Linked DNA regions of Homo sapiens: regions 1, 3, 4 and 5 are each linked to region 2. The links are contacts of gene promoters, found by promoter capture Hi-C in blood cells and fetal thymus (Javierre and others, 2016). All regions are on one chromosome and are shown on one strand. Each heading gives the region's core, a stretch centred on a gene start or on the middle of the fragment in contact. The rest is flanking DNA. Distances are from core to core; before and after follow the strand shown. Region 1 holds the start of APBB1 (amyloid beta precursor protein binding family B member 1). Region 2 holds the start of TRIM22 (tripartite motif containing 22). Region 3 overlaps TPP1 (tripeptidyl peptidase 1). Region 4 overlaps APBB1 (amyloid beta precursor protein binding family B member 1). Region 5 holds the start of CAVIN3 (caveolae associated protein 3).

What was found. The method cuts DNA at HindIII sites, captures the fragments that hold promoters and counts their contacts. A CHiCAGO score of 5 or more calls a contact.
Region 1: a contact is called between the fragment with the promoter of APBB1 here and the fragment with the promoter of TRIM22 in region 2, in 2 of 17 cell types (non-activated CD4 T cells and activated CD4 T cells). The highest score is 7.2, in non-activated CD4 T cells.
Region 3: a fragment that was not itself captured here is called in contact with the fragment with the promoter of TRIM22 in region 2 in 1 of 17 cell types (activated CD4 T cells); the score reaches 6.0 in activated CD4 T cells.
Region 4: a contact is called between a fragment that was not itself captured here and the fragment with the promoter of TRIM22 in region 2, in 1 of 17 cell types (non-activated CD4 T cells). The highest score is 5.2, in non-activated CD4 T cells.
Region 5: the fragment with the promoter of CAVIN3 here is called in contact with the fragment with the promoter of TRIM22 in region 2 in 4 of 17 cell types (M1 macrophages, M0 macrophages, endothelial precursors and 1 more); the score reaches 9.0 in M1 macrophages.

The regions. Positions count from the first base shown.
Region 1 is chr11:6,417,828-6,420,527 of GRCh38, reverse strand. It overlaps APBB1 (amyloid beta precursor protein binding family B member 1), which reads left to right and starts at 1,434. Exons shown (of 15, transcript NM_001164.5): 1 at 1,434-1,543. RefSeq lists silencers at 1,067-1,466, 1,477-1,666. The HindIII fragment of the contact is 2,464 bases long and covers 30-2,493 here.
Region 2 is chr11:5,688,529-5,691,228 of GRCh38, reverse strand. It overlaps TRIM22 (tripartite motif containing 22), which reads right to left and starts at 1,439. Exons shown (of 8, transcript NM_006074.5): 1 at 1,330-1,439. It overlaps LOC124902620 (a long non-coding RNA gene), which reads left to right. Exons shown (of 2, transcript XR_007062561.1): 1 at 1-551; 2 at 933-1,002. RefSeq lists enhancers at 620-719, 135-1,334, 1,306-1,645, 767-1,759. The HindIII fragment of the contact is 4,665 bases long and covers 434-2,700 here.
Region 3 is chr11:6,615,738-6,618,237 of GRCh38, reverse strand. It overlaps TPP1 (tripeptidyl peptidase 1), which reads left to right. Exons shown (of 13, transcript NM_000391.4): 4 at 462-612; 5 at 810-937; 6 at 1,085-1,263; 7 at 1,379-1,577; 8 at 1,735-1,923; 9 at 2,164-2,233. Among named protein-coding and RNA genes, the nearest start is that of TPP1, 2.4 kb to the left of the region's middle. The HindIII fragment of the contact is 2,193 bases long and covers 154-2,346 here.
Region 4 is chr11:6,400,521-6,403,220 of GRCh38, reverse strand. It overlaps APBB1 (amyloid beta precursor protein binding family B member 1), which reads left to right. Exons shown (of 15, transcript NM_001164.5): 6 at 13-76; 7 at 496-645; 8 at 1,012-1,139; 9 at 1,239-1,244; 10 at 1,533-1,647; 11 at 1,792-1,876; 12 at 2,149-2,232. Among named protein-coding and RNA genes, the nearest start is that of SMPD1, 11 kb to the right of the region's middle. The HindIII fragment of the contact is 2,462 bases long and covers 46-2,507 here.
Region 5 is chr11:6,319,251-6,322,018 of GRCh38, reverse strand. It overlaps CAVIN3 (caveolae associated protein 3), which reads left to right and starts at 1,518. Exons shown (of 2, transcript NM_145040.3): 1 at 1,518-1,926; 2 at 2,455-2,768. The coding sequence starts at 1,543. LOC101927825 (a long non-coding RNA gene) reads right to left here. Exons shown (of 7, transcript XR_930998.4): 1 at 2,322-2,768. RefSeq lists enhancers at 752-841, 872-931, 942-1,301, 1,512-1,561, 2,105-2,768. The HindIII fragment of the contact is 4,344 bases long and covers 790-2,768 here.

The DNA of each region.
Region 1 (2,700 bases), core at 185-2,684, 730 kb before region 2:
AAAGTATATTCAAAGATGACTTTGAAGCTTCTGGCTTGGGAAGCCAGTAGTTGGTGTCATTCATTGGAATGGATGGAATGGAGTTGTGTCCAGTGTGGGATGTGTGTTGTGTTGTGTGTGTTGAAGAGGGTTCTTTTTCACCCCAGTGAAACTCCTTAAAAGACTAATAAAGGGGGATGAAACAATAAATTGAGGCTGGACACTGTGTCTGACGCCTGTAATCTCAGCACTTTGGGAGGCCGAGGTGGGAGGATCGCTTGAACACAGGAGTTCCAGACCAGCCTGGGGAACACAGTGAGACCCCCTCTCTACTAAAATACAAAAAGCCAGGCGCGGTGGCACATGTCTGTGGCCCAGGTACTCCGGGGGCTGAGGCGGGAGGAATCTGAGCCCTGGAGGCTGAGGCTTCAGAGAGCCATGATCTTGCCCCTGGGTGACAGAGTGAGACCCTGCCTTGAAAGAAAGAACGAACTCAGATTTGGATATCTTTAGTTTTAGGCACCTGAGAGGGATTAGCATGTAGAGGCTTTCTGGATGGTAATATAACCTCTCATTATCCTTGATGGCCTCTGGGTCACTGATCTGACCATTGGGATGTATCCCACTATCCAGGGAGGGTCTGTAGTAAGTATTGCACCCCACCATCTTCCTTACATCTTTACACTTTTCATTCACAATATCCCCTTCCTTGTGAATTTCTACCGGGGAGCAATGTATTCTTGACATTTTCCAGGCCTTGATGTCAGCTTTATGCTCAGCAGCAGAGGTATTTCAGTGTCAAGAAACATCGGAGTTCCAGTCTAAATTCATCACTAACTGTGACTGCGGGCAAGTCGCTTTACCTCTCTTAATCTTAGCCTCAGCCTCTGAAAAATGAGGATAATAATTCTGGTGATTTTACAGAGCTGATGTGAAGATTAATGCGCGTTAACGGTTTAATAGAGAGCCCGGCACGGTGTAAGTGGTCAATAAATACGAGCTATTATTATGAGCAACGCTGTGTCCTCAGAGCCTCCCCACCAGGACGTCAGGGAGCGGTGCAGCAGGAGCGGCGCAGAGTGCCTCCCGGGAATCCTTCCCCGCGCGGCCGCGGCGCCGCACAGCCGCCGCCATTCGGGCTCCAGCCCCGTCCGCGCGTCTCCCGGCGTGGGTGCGGGACCAGGGCGCTGCGGGGCGCGCAGGGTGAGTCTGTGGAATAGTAGTGGAGGACGGCGCCGCGCTAGGCGGGGGTCCCAGGGAGTCGGCTGCAGGGGTGTCTGCTGGGAGGGCTGGACCGCGGGGCTCACCGAGGTCCGAGGGCCGCCCGCAGGGTGAGGCCCCCAAGAAGCTGCGGCAAGTGCCGCGCCCGCCGAGCTCGCTCCCGCGCCCGCCCCAAGATGGCGCCCCTCCCCCTCCCCTTGCGCGCGCCTCCGCCGCTCGGGGCGCGGCCCCGCGGCCCGCGCGCTCCTGGGCGGGGGATGTTGTGATGGAGAAGCCGCGGCGGAGCCCGAACCCCGCAGCCTGAGCCACCTCCGTCATCTGGGCCCGGGGCCTCACCGCGCAGGTAGGAGGTGTCCCTGCCCCGGCCCAGCCCCGGTGGCTGCGTCCCGATCACCAGCGGCCGGCGGACCCTGTAGCCCCTACCCTGCGGCAGCCCGGGTCCCCCGGCCGGCCCCATCCCCCATCCCCGGGTCGCCCTTCCACCGCGCGCCCGCAGACCGTCCTCTCATACCCACCATCGCAGGGTCCACTCGGGCCCTCACACCGTCCCTTCCGCTGCCCTTTACCTCCTGCCCCTCGGGGTGACTAGGGGCGGGTATGGAGGACGCGAAGCGAGGGGCAGTGGGTGTTGGGGGAGGGGAGGCCCAGGTCCGGGAAGGGGACGTGGGGTGGGGTGGGCTGGCAGGCCGCGCCGATTCCAGCAGGGGTCCCAGGCCCTGGATCTGTCAAGCCGCATTCTGTTGCCCTCAGCGACCGAGGGGTGTGCCCTGGGGCGGCTGTGTCCCCAGCTCAGCCAGGAGGCCTAGCACTGCCAAGAACACTGATTAGAAGCAGTTTTCCCACTGCCAATTCCTAACCTGTTTTGTATCGGCCTGTGTATCTCTTGCATTCTGAGCCCCTCTAGCTATAGTCCCAGCTCTCTCCGCCCTTCAGAGTCAACGCTTGCTGTCTTCATTTCCTTACTTCCCATTCATTCTTAAAAGCACTCCACTCTGTGTCCCTGACACCCACTGAAACTGTCTAGGCCAAGGTCACCGGAGACCTCCTTGTGGAGAACTCCAGTGGACACTGTTATCTCCTTTACCTTTGAGTAGTATTCGGTGGGGTATGTCAACTCACTCTCCTTGAAGCATTTTCCTGCTTTCTGCCCTACAGCATTGTCTGCTCTTCTCAATCTCATTTGCTTCCTCTCCTCCTCTCTTTAGATGCTGGTGAGGCTCTTGGCTCTGTCCCGAGCTGTCTTCTCTCAGTATCTGTTCTTTCTCCCCAGATATTTTATCTACTCCCAAAGCTTCAAATTTCATATATATGCTAATGATTCCCAAATTTATATATCCAGCCCAGACTTCTTTCCTGAAATCCAGACTCATATGTCCAGCTGCTCTCTTGACATCTCCTTGAAAGACAAACAGGAGTTCCAAACCTATAGATTCCAAGCTAAATTATCTTCTGTGGTTTTCTCTGTACCCCACTTCCAAATCTGTTCTTCCTTCGAATCTC
Region 2 (2,700 bases), core at 190-2,689:
AGACAGGAGTCTTGCCTATGCCCCTGGCCGAATAAACCCCTTCCTTCTTTACCTCGGTGTCTGAGGAGTTTTTTCTGTGGCTGGTCCTGCTACAAAGGAAGAGTAAGCTGTGGGTACTCAGAAGAACAAGTTCCCTGTGACTGGACCTTCAGAGACAAGAGACCAAAGTGGAGCTGCAGAGATGAGCAGCAGTCTGCCCGTCCTGCGGCCTCTCTCCTCGGACTAACCAGAGGGCTGCTAATTTATCAGGAAAGCTATGGACAGCATCCAAAAAGTTACCAGAAGGCAAGTAAAAGGATAACCTTCAAAAGGGCCTTACTTCTGAAGACTGAGTACCTAAGACTCCTTCGCCTCATACCCAGATCCAGATAAGGGCTCTCATCCCTGCTGAACCTCATCATGAGGTTGCTTTATGAAAAGTGAAAACAAAGCTTCATTGCACAGGCTTCTTCGGGAGAAAGGAGGAAGGAATTTGCTGCCTCTGAATAAAAGAAAATTCTGATCCACGTTGGCAAAATGGAAAAATCAAAATGACAGAATAGGAATGTGGGGTATGATAAGGTTTCTCTTCAAATAGCCTGATCAATCCTTTATTCTTTAATTCACAGTGCCCCTCCCCACTTCACTTTTCTTCTCTTCTCTTTCCTTTCTGCTTTTGCTACATGCCTAGACATGTCACAGTACCAGGCGTTATCAGTACCAACTCACATTCCTTTCCTTATTTTGGAAGAAGATTAGTTATCTAGCTCATCACACACACCCCTTCCCCATCTCCCCTCTCTCCCTCACGTGCCCACCTTATCTAAAGAAAGTTAAAATGTTTAGCCAACTGAGTCTAGTTTAGATTGTGTGGCCGACTCCAGCCAATGGGGAAAGGGCAAAGGGGTAGGATTTGCGTCAGGAATAAAAACTTTCTTCCTCCTTTGTTCTAGTGTGCTCTCATGGCGACTGGCAAAGAAGAAGCACCCCTCTGCACAGAAATAAAATTGCTTTGCTGAGAAATCCTTTGTTTGAGTGCTCGTCTCCCTTAAGATTCTGAGCTTTATTTCCAACAAGGAAGGTGATGGAGGTACCTAGATTGAAGAAATGAATGGTCCCTCTAGGAAACAAGCAAGGCTTTTTGCTTTTGCAAACCTCTCTTCTTTAAAGGTTACCCCTCTCCCAGACTCAGTGCTTTCTTCCTCTGCCATCTCAGCAGACAGTTCACAAGCTGCCTCTTTTTGTTTATGCAGAGCAGCTTCAGAACTACAAATTAAACTCACCCAGACACAATCAATCTATTCTTCTCAAAGCCTCCCATTCTATGCTCCCACAGATTGCTCCACTCACCTTCAGTCCAAAGCAGAGGAGTCTTGAATCAGGGGAGAAGAGTGAAGGCAGGGCAGGAGCCGGTGTAAACCAGATTCACTCACCAAGCCAGAGGGCTGGTCTCCACAAATGAGTTTCCCCACAGGAGCTGAGTGAGAAACGAAAGTTAAATTCTCAGAAGTGAAAGAAAACAAAGGAAGCTGAACAAGAACTTACATAACAATAAACCCTGGGGAAAGTAATGCTACATTATGTTCTAGCATCTGCTGTACTGGCAAGGCACTCAGTCACTACTTCCTTATTCTTACTGTGGTTTACTCAAGCAAGAATATTTGAATAAAAAGAATGTGAATTACAGTTATACAGCTTGCCTGAATACTTAGAATTCCAATGCAGTCCTATAATTATTAGTCGAATTTATCTTATATTTAAGACCTAAGCCAGGAAAATAAAGATCCAGAGACTTGGGACCTAGCTTCTTGAAATGCAGTCTGACGAGGAAGATACTCAGTTATAAAGCTCTACAAATTTGGGCTGACAAGATGAGTATTAGCAGCTGACATTGTGAATGGTAAAAAAATTATTTTTATAAATAAAAGGATCTTTAGTGTGAGCCCATTGAAAAAAATGTTCTCAAAATGTCATTAAATCTTAAGAGTCCATCAATTAATTATCACTTCCTGCTCCTAATCCAGACAGACCAGATGAGGATGGATTCCAGAGAGTAATAGAGGTAAAACTGTGTCAGTGTCATGTTACCCAGCCACTGAGGCAGGTGAGAACATGGAAGTTAACAGATGATGCTGTTTAATTATAATCATTCATTGAGTTACTCTCATGCCTTCATAATTTTTCCACTTTTCCCTGCTTCTCTAAGAAAAGTTTGGTCATTTTTACACAATCAATTAAAAAGCAGCACTGAAACATGTTATACGTCATGCACATACTTCTGTACCCTGTTGTCTATTGTATTCTTGTTTAACTGCATGTGCCAGATAATGCCATCAAAAACTGATGGAGGCCTGTGGTGTCTCATGCCTGTAATCCCAGCACTCTGGGAGGCCCAGGTGGGTGGATCACTTGAGTCCAGGACTTCAACACCAGCCTGGGCAACATGGTGAAATCCCATCTCTAAGAAAAATTAAAAAAAAAAAAATAGCTGGGTGTGGTGATGTGCACCTGTAGTCCCAGCTACTCAGGAAACTGAGATGGGAGGATGGCTTGAGCCCAGGAGGTGGAGGTTGCATTGAGCCAAGATTGCGTCATTGCACCATAGCACTGCAGCCTGGGTGACATAGTAAGACCCTGTCTCTACAAAAAACAAACAAACAAACACCACACAACACATACACACACACACCCAAAAAAAAAGAAAAAAAAAGGCAACTCATG
Region 3 (2,500 bases), core at 1-2,500, 930 kb before region 2:
AGAGGCTGGGGACGGGGCAGTGTGACACTAGTGTGCATGGCAGGAAACAGTGACTCACCATCGTGTTAAGCTTAAAATCAACAAGTATGCAAATTTGAGCTAAACTGAATAACTGGTACCGAAAGATTTGAAAACATTTACCGGACATAAGCTTAAAATTAAAATGGAAAATTTATATGTATTAACCTCATTCATTTTCATGATCATGGCAATACATGCTGTGGTGCGACATTTGCAACTTACTGGCCTTTAGGGTAAATCCATATTATTGGCCATGGCATTTCAAGTCTCTCCAGCCTTTTCTTCCTCTGCTTCCCAAGTACACCCTACACCTGCACACATAGCCCTCCTTTACCCTGTTCCAGGCTTTGGGAAGTCCTGATGTCTCATAGTTGAGGTCCAAAAGGGGGAGTTTGGGAAAGCAATGAATGAGGGCAAGTGCCTCTTCTGAATCCCTGCAGGAAAATACCTGACCCTAGAGAATGTGGCTGATCTGGTGAGGCCATCCCCACTGACCCTCCACACGGTGCAAAAATGGCTCTTGGCAGCCGGAGCCCAGAAGTGCCATTCTGTGATCACACAGGACTTTCTGACTTGCTGGCTGAGCATCCGGTGAGAGGAAATGATTGCTCCATGGAGGGCACCAGTCATCCCATCAGTGAGATGGATGGGAGGGAGTTGAGAGCTTGCTGGGGCTTGTGGGTGGGAGCTAATGCATGGGGAGACAGTGACTGACTGCCCAGGGATGCTCAGAGGTAGCTTCTTCTGTTCCGTTTTGAGCTTTCTGACCTCTGTTCTCTGACCTCCAGACAAGCAGAGCTGCTGCTCCCTGGGGCTGAGTTTCATCACTATGTGGGAGGACCTACGGAAACCCATGTTGTAAGGTCCCCACATCCCTACCAGCTTCCACAGGCCTTGGCCCCCCATGTGGACTTTGGTAACACCTATGGGGTGAATGGGGGTTGGGGCACACAGATCCAGGGGCTGAGGAAGTTTAGATGCCATTGGGGACTGGGGGTGGGGTGAGTTGTAAGGTGGGCATTACAGTCTATAAGATCTCCTCAAGCCTGACTTCTCCCTACAGTGGGGGGACTGCACCGTTTTCCCCCAACATCATCCCTGAGGCAACGTCCTGAGCCGCAGGTGACAGGGACTGTAGGCCTGCATCTGGGGGTAACCCCCTCTGTGATCCGTAAGCGATACAACTTGACCTCACAAGACGTGGGCTCTGGCACCAGCAATAACAGCCAAGCCTGTGCCCAGGTGAGCCAAGCAAAGAGCCCCAGGGTCCTCATAGCCTCCCCACAGTGTCCTCAATTCCTTACCACCCTGGGACTCACCCTCGGACCCACGATCTCTGCTCTGACTCCCTCCATAGTTCCTGGAGCAGTATTTCCATGACTCAGACCTGGCTCAGTTCATGCGCCTCTTCGGTGGCAACTTTGCACATCAGGCATCAGTAGCCCGTGTGGTTGGACAACAGGGCCGGGGCCGGGCCGGGATTGAGGCCAGTCTAGATGTGCAGTACCTGATGAGTGCTGGTGCCAACATCTCCACCTGGGTCTACAGTAGCCCTGGTACTACCAAGAGGACTGGACAGTGGGGAAGGGGGTGGGAGATGGGTGTTGATCCCTGCTCCCTCAAGGGAATGCTATAAGCTGGAGAGAGATCCTGACAACCCCCAGTGACTATCTTTGTGCCCATCCCTCAAAAAAAAAAAAAAAAAAAATCCAGGCCGGCATGAGGGACAGGAGCCCTTCCTGCAGTGGCTCATGCTGCTCAGTAATGAGTCAGCCCTGCCACATGTGCATACTGTGAGCTATGGAGATGATGAGGACTCCCTCAGCAGCGCCTACATCCAGCGGGTCAACACTGAGCTCATGAAGGCTGCCGCTCGGGGTCTCACCCTGCTCTTCGCCTCAGGTGACCTCCTACCCTAAACTTAGACAATGCTTACACCTCTGCAGCCTGGGAGCTTTGACTCCACAGTGATCCCTGAGCCTGGTCTCTGACTCATAATCTGAACTCAGACCTTCCAGTAGGGACCACTGACCTGACCTCTACACTCTGACCTCCTACAGTAACAAATTTCCCCTCTGACATCCGAACCCACATACTAAGCCCTAACCAATTAATATGAATGCTACACTTGGTCTCTCTCAGGTGACAGTGGGGCCGGGTGTTGGTCTGTCTCTGGAAGACACCAGTTCCGCCCTACCTTCCCTGCCTCCAGGTAAGTACTCTAGCCTACCACTCAGGTATAACCACCACCTTTCACTTGTGATCTCATGATGTAGAACCTTTGTCTTGACCCCACCATGTGCTCCTGTGGTTCAGCCTTAAGCTTTGCCTGCCCTGGTTGCTGTACTCCTGTCTCTTCTTCCTGCAGGTCCCAGGCCCCAAATCTCTTGTGTGGGATACAGCTCCCATTGTTCCTTTTCGTCAGTTCCCAGGCATTTTAGTGGAAGATTTGGTGGGTGTTCTGTAGAGAAAAGTGTGC
Region 4 (2,700 bases), core at 27-2,526, 710 kb before region 2:
ATCTGCCTTCAGCCCAGAGCCGTTGCCCCAAGAGGAGGAGAAGCTTCCCCCACGGAATACCAACCCAGGGATCAAGGTTTGTTCAAGACTGACACCCATTCTGAGTCTGGGGCCCTCTTATTTGTCAGACAGCCCCTAATGTTGTGCTCTGAGGGGTCTCAGCGCAGTTCCCCAGGTCCTGAGTTAGGAGTTCTTCCAGTCTCAGCACAGAGCCCTGTGTCTGAGCTGGAGGCACTTCAGTTTTTAAATCAACCAGCCCAACAGCCAGGTTGGGGGCCCTTGTAGTCTTAGTTCAGGTGCTTTTTTGTACTAGCTGGGGTCTCATCTGACATCTCCCTCACCCTAACCACATCCCCCTCTCCCTAACCACATCCTGTTTGGGGAGCTTCTCCGTCTTAGTTCAGAACACCCTGCCTCCTGCCACACTCTGTAGTCAGGAACTCTCCAGTTTTGACTCAGATCCTCTACCTCCTGCCCCTCTTCTGTGTCTGGCAGTGTTTCGCCGTGCGCTCCCTAGGCTGGGTAGAGATGACCGAGGAGGAGCTGGCCCCTGGACGCAGCAGTGTGGCAGTCAACAATTGCATCCGTCAGCTCTCTTACCACAAAAACAACCTGCATGACCCCATGTCTGGGGGCTGGGGGGAAGTAAGGACCTGAGCCGGGGGTAGGGGGTGGTACTGTGAGAGTGTGAAGGGAATTATGAGAGATGGGAGGTCTGACCTGCCCACAAGCAGGCTGGGGAAGGGGGATATTGGCCCATCCTAAGTGGCAGCCCTGTGGGATGGATGAGCGACCCCAGGCCAGGACCTTGGGAGATAGTCGCCTAACAACGGTGGAGTCAATGTGAGAGATGACACGTGACCTCCACTAGAGTGAGGCCTGCAGGGCGGGCGGTCTGACACCAAAGCAGGGGCCCCAGAGCTGTGGCTAACATCCCCTGAGCTGCAGGGGTCAGAGATCAGCCACCATCCTGGCTGGAGTCCCACTGAGTGCCTGCTTCTGGTCCTGCAGGGAAAGGATCTGCTACTGCAGCTGGAGGATGAGACACTAAAGCTAGTGGAGCCACAGAGCCAGGCACTGCTGCACGCCCAACCCATCATCAGCATCCGCGTGTGGGGCGTCGGGCGGGACAGTGGAAGGTGGGAATAGGGCTTGGGATTCGAGGGTGGGAGTTCATCCAGCATCAGAGTCCTCCTCTCTAACTCTGTTATTTGCCTCTCTTGTGCTGCTGGACCCAGAGAGAGGTACTATGCCTATTTTCCCCCTCCTACACCTGGACCAGATGCCTGGAAGCACCCAAGCTCCCCTCTTCTGCCCTGCCCCTTCCCACCCGCTATGCTCCACCATTACCCTCCACCTCAGCATGCTTGCCTGTCTACCCCTCCCCCCCAAGAAGGCAGCACCTATGGGGGACCAGCTGTGGGCAGAAGCCCTGGAGGAGCTGTGATGGGCAGGGAGGACGTGGGTGGGGTGGGGACCAGGCTCAGCACTGGATGGTACTGGGAGACACTGAGGTGCCCCTTCCCCAACAGGGACTTTGCCTACGTAGCTCGTGATAAGCTGACCCAGATGCTCAAGTGCCACGTGTTTCGCTGTGAGGCACCTGCCAAGAACATCGCCACCAGCCTGCATGAGATCTGCTCTAAGGCACGGCCCCCTCCACTCCCTGGACTAGTTGCCACCTTTGCTCTACAAGGGTGTGGGTGGGGTCACTGAGTGCTGTAGGGGGGCCCCAGGGCAATGAGGCTCTAATAGATTCTCCCTGGCTCCTCGCCTCCCTTCCTTCCTCAGATCATGGCCGAACGGCGTAATGCCCGCTGCTTGGTAAATGGACTCTCCCTGGACCACTCTAAACTTGTGGATGTCCCTTTCCAAGGTCAGTGTCAAAACCCCTCCAGGTCCAGCTCAGCTTTGTTGGCAAAGGTGGGTGACCCAAGGAAAGGCATGAGCTCCTGGACAGCGCTGATAGAAAAATGAACACATGAAGACTGAATACTCCAATACGTGGAGGGACTCCGGTTAAAGGGAGGCAGGGGACGAGATGAAAGTAGGGCCTCGGCTGGGCAAGTGTCCAGCTTATGCCCTGCTGGTGGGGCTGCGGGTGAGCAAGGTCTGCCACCATGATCAACCTTCTCTTCTTTCCCATAGTGGAATTCCCAGCGCCTAAGAATGAGTTGGTCCAGAAGTTCCAAGTCTATTACCTGGGGAATGTACCTGTTGCTAAACCTGTTGGTATGTGTGTCCTTCTATACCCAGGGGCTGCTACCTTGATCCTAAAACTCTGCCCCTACCCTCTGCCTTCCAATACTTCTTCTACCAGACCTTCCTCATGCTTGGTGTCTCCCTACCCTTTAAAATGCATCCCACCTCCCCATACTTCTGTCCTAGCTCTATTTCCTGTCCTGCCTATAGCAGCAGTCAGCACGCCTTCGCTGAGCATCAGCCACGTGAGTGGTGCTGAACCAGGCACAAAGGGAGACCCCACTCCTTCATCCCATGGAAAAGCTTTGGTGGGATTGGGAGGCTGATGTTAGATGACTGGAGGACACCAGACAGCAGCCTGTAGCTGGGTTTAGTGTTACAGCACCAGCTGTGGGCTGGGAGCATCTGGAGAAGGAAACAGTGAGCATAATTGTCACATACTTCATTGTTGCAAAGAATTTTTTTTTTTTTTTTTTTAAAGACAAGTCTCGCTCTGTC
Region 5 (2,768 bases), core at 269-2,768, 630 kb before region 2:
TCACCAGATTTCTGGCATTAGCTGCCCACGTCTGTGGCACTTCAGGCCCATGTAACTATTTCCAGAGTGACACAAGTTTCTTCCACAGTTGTCAACAAGTGGCCCTCACAGGTTCAGTGAGAAGAGGAAGAGGGAGAGAGATCATCAGGATTAATGGATTACTTGCATTTGTGAGACGGTTTGCCAAGTATTGCTACAAACAAGGCACGGGATTTTCTTTTTTCTTTTCTTTTTTTTTTGAGATGGAGTCTTGCTCTGTCCTCCAGGCTGTAGTGCAGTGGAGCAATCTTGGTTTACTGCATTCTCTGCCTCCCAGGTTCAAACGATTCTTCTGCCTCAGCCCTCCCGAGTAGCTGGGATTACAGGCGTGTGTCACAACGCCCTGCTAATTTTTGTATTTTTAGTAGAGACGGGGTTTTGCCATGTTGCCCAGGCTGGTCTGGAACTCCCTGCCTCACGTGATCCTCCCCCCTCGGCCTCCCAAAGTGGTGGGATTACAAGCATGAGCCACCGCGCCCGGCTAAGGCATGGGATGTTTCGAACTGCTGACATTAGAAATTCACAATCCACATCATTAACTGGATCCTCCATGCCCACTCTCTCCCTCTCTGCAGCAGCAATTTCAAATCTTTACTCTCCGCAGTTCCACAGAACACAAGAAACAAACAAACAAGCAAAAAAAGTCAGGCAGGAGCCCAAGTAACCTCTATCAAAGCAAAGACCAGTGCCTAGTCTAACGCTTTTAAGGATTTTAAAAGAGGTGAAGGTGTCCTGCTTATCCTCCAAGCTTGGGTGCTGGGGCCGGGGCGGCTGAGATTTACCAGTGAAACCCAAAGAAAGAGAGGGCAGAAAACTAGAGAAAAGAAACCAGATAATGCTACCCAAGAGGACGAAATAAAGAAGCAGGAAACGAAGCCTGAGGCTAAACCCTGGAGATGACTATTAGGAAAACACCAGAGGATGCCCCGCCCGCCAGCCCACAATGAGCAGCCTGTCCAAGTCACAAAGCGGGGCCTCGGGCCTTGACAGTTCGCGATCTGTAAGCAGAATGTTCCAGGGCCTCCCTGTCGCCTGCATCCAGCCTGGGGGCAATCTTCACTGGTGTGGGAGGCCGAAAGTGGACGGCGACGGAGGCCCCTCTGGTTATCTCTTTGCCGTGCCAACACAGTCTCTGCGCCCACTAAGATGCATGAAATAAAAATTTCCGTGACTCGCCCTTTGCAGTGGAGAACTGAAACAGGCACACCAGGGAATTGGAGCGGAGGAGGGTAACTCAAACTCAGAGTGAGAGGGTTTGCAGGGGGCCGATTTGGGGCCAACAGGCTTCCCAGCAGGCCCCCGGCGCGGGACAGCGGAAGGCGAAACGCTTTCAAGAGACCCCGCTGCCAACATCCCCACGCCCTCGCGCCCTCCCGCCGCCCCAGAAGGCCAACTCCGCCTGCCTGAGTCACAGCTGGAGCTGGGGAGGAGCCAGGGAAAGGAGGCCCCTGACCGTAGTGCGGCCAGCAGTTGCAGGCAGACGGAGCAGAGCGGTCAGGGATCATGAGGGAGAGTGCGTTGGAGCGGGGGCCTGTGCCCGAGGCGCCGGCGGGGGGTCCCGTGCACGCCGTGACGGTGGTGACCCTGCTGGAGAAGCTGGCCTCCATGCTGGAGACTCTGCGGGAGCGGCAGGGAGGCCTGGCTCGAAGGCAGGGAGGCCTGGCAGGGTCCGTGCGCCGCATCCAGAGCGGCCTGGGCGCTCTGAGTCGCAGCCACGACACCACCAGCAACACCTTGGCGCAGCTGCTGGCCAAGGCGGAGCGCGTGAGCTCGCACGCCAACGCCGCCCAAGAGCGCGCGGTGCGCCGCGCAGCCCAGGTGCAGCGGCTGGAGGCCAACCACGGGCTGCTGGTGGCGCGCGGGAAGCTCCACGTTCTGCTCTTCAAGGTCAGTGACCTCAAACGGTCCCCAATCCGAGGCCTTTGCCGGCCTGTGGGCCACCAGCTGGGGGCTCCCCGCTTCCATCCACCTACCACACCCACATTCCTGACCCCTCCCGCCGTCTGTTGCTGTGGAACAGACTCACAGAGCCGCACCCACTTCCCAAGACCCAGCCCCATCCCTCCCTCTCACGCCTGAGCCCCGCCTGGCCAATCCAAGCCCGCCCAGCTCTAGCTCAGGCCACGTCCGCAGAATTTGGTCTGAGTCCCAGCCAATCCCTAAAATAACGGTGGTTGAAAGGGCATTCCGTGACTGCGGGCACTATCCTCTTCTCGCCCCTCACCAGGCCTCACCTACTTTACAGCGTTTTGCAGTTCGCACGCAGCTTTCCCTCCCCTTACCTTCCCACGCCTGCCTTTCCCCCCAGACTCTGGCTGCGGAGGTAAAAGGTTTCCCTTGTGTAATTAAGGAGTGAGTTTCGGGCTGCTGGGGGTAAGGAGCTGCCAGGATCAGTGCTGTGTCCGTCACATGCAGGAGGAGGGTGAAGTCCCAGCCAGCGCTTTCCAGAAGGCACCAGAGCCCTTGGGCCCGGCGGACCAGTCCGAGCTGGGCCCAGAGCAGCTGGAGGCCGAAGTTGGAGAGAGCTCGGACGAGGAGCCGGTGGAGTCCAGGGCCCAGCGGCTGCGGCGCACCGGATTGCAGAAGGTACAGAGCCTCCGAAGGGCCCTTTCGGGCCGGAAAGGCCCTGCAGCGCCACCGCCCACCCCGGTCAAGCCGCCTCGCCTTGGGCCTGGCCGGAGCGCTGAAGCCCAGCCGGAAGCCCAGCCTGCGCTGGAGCCCACGCTGGA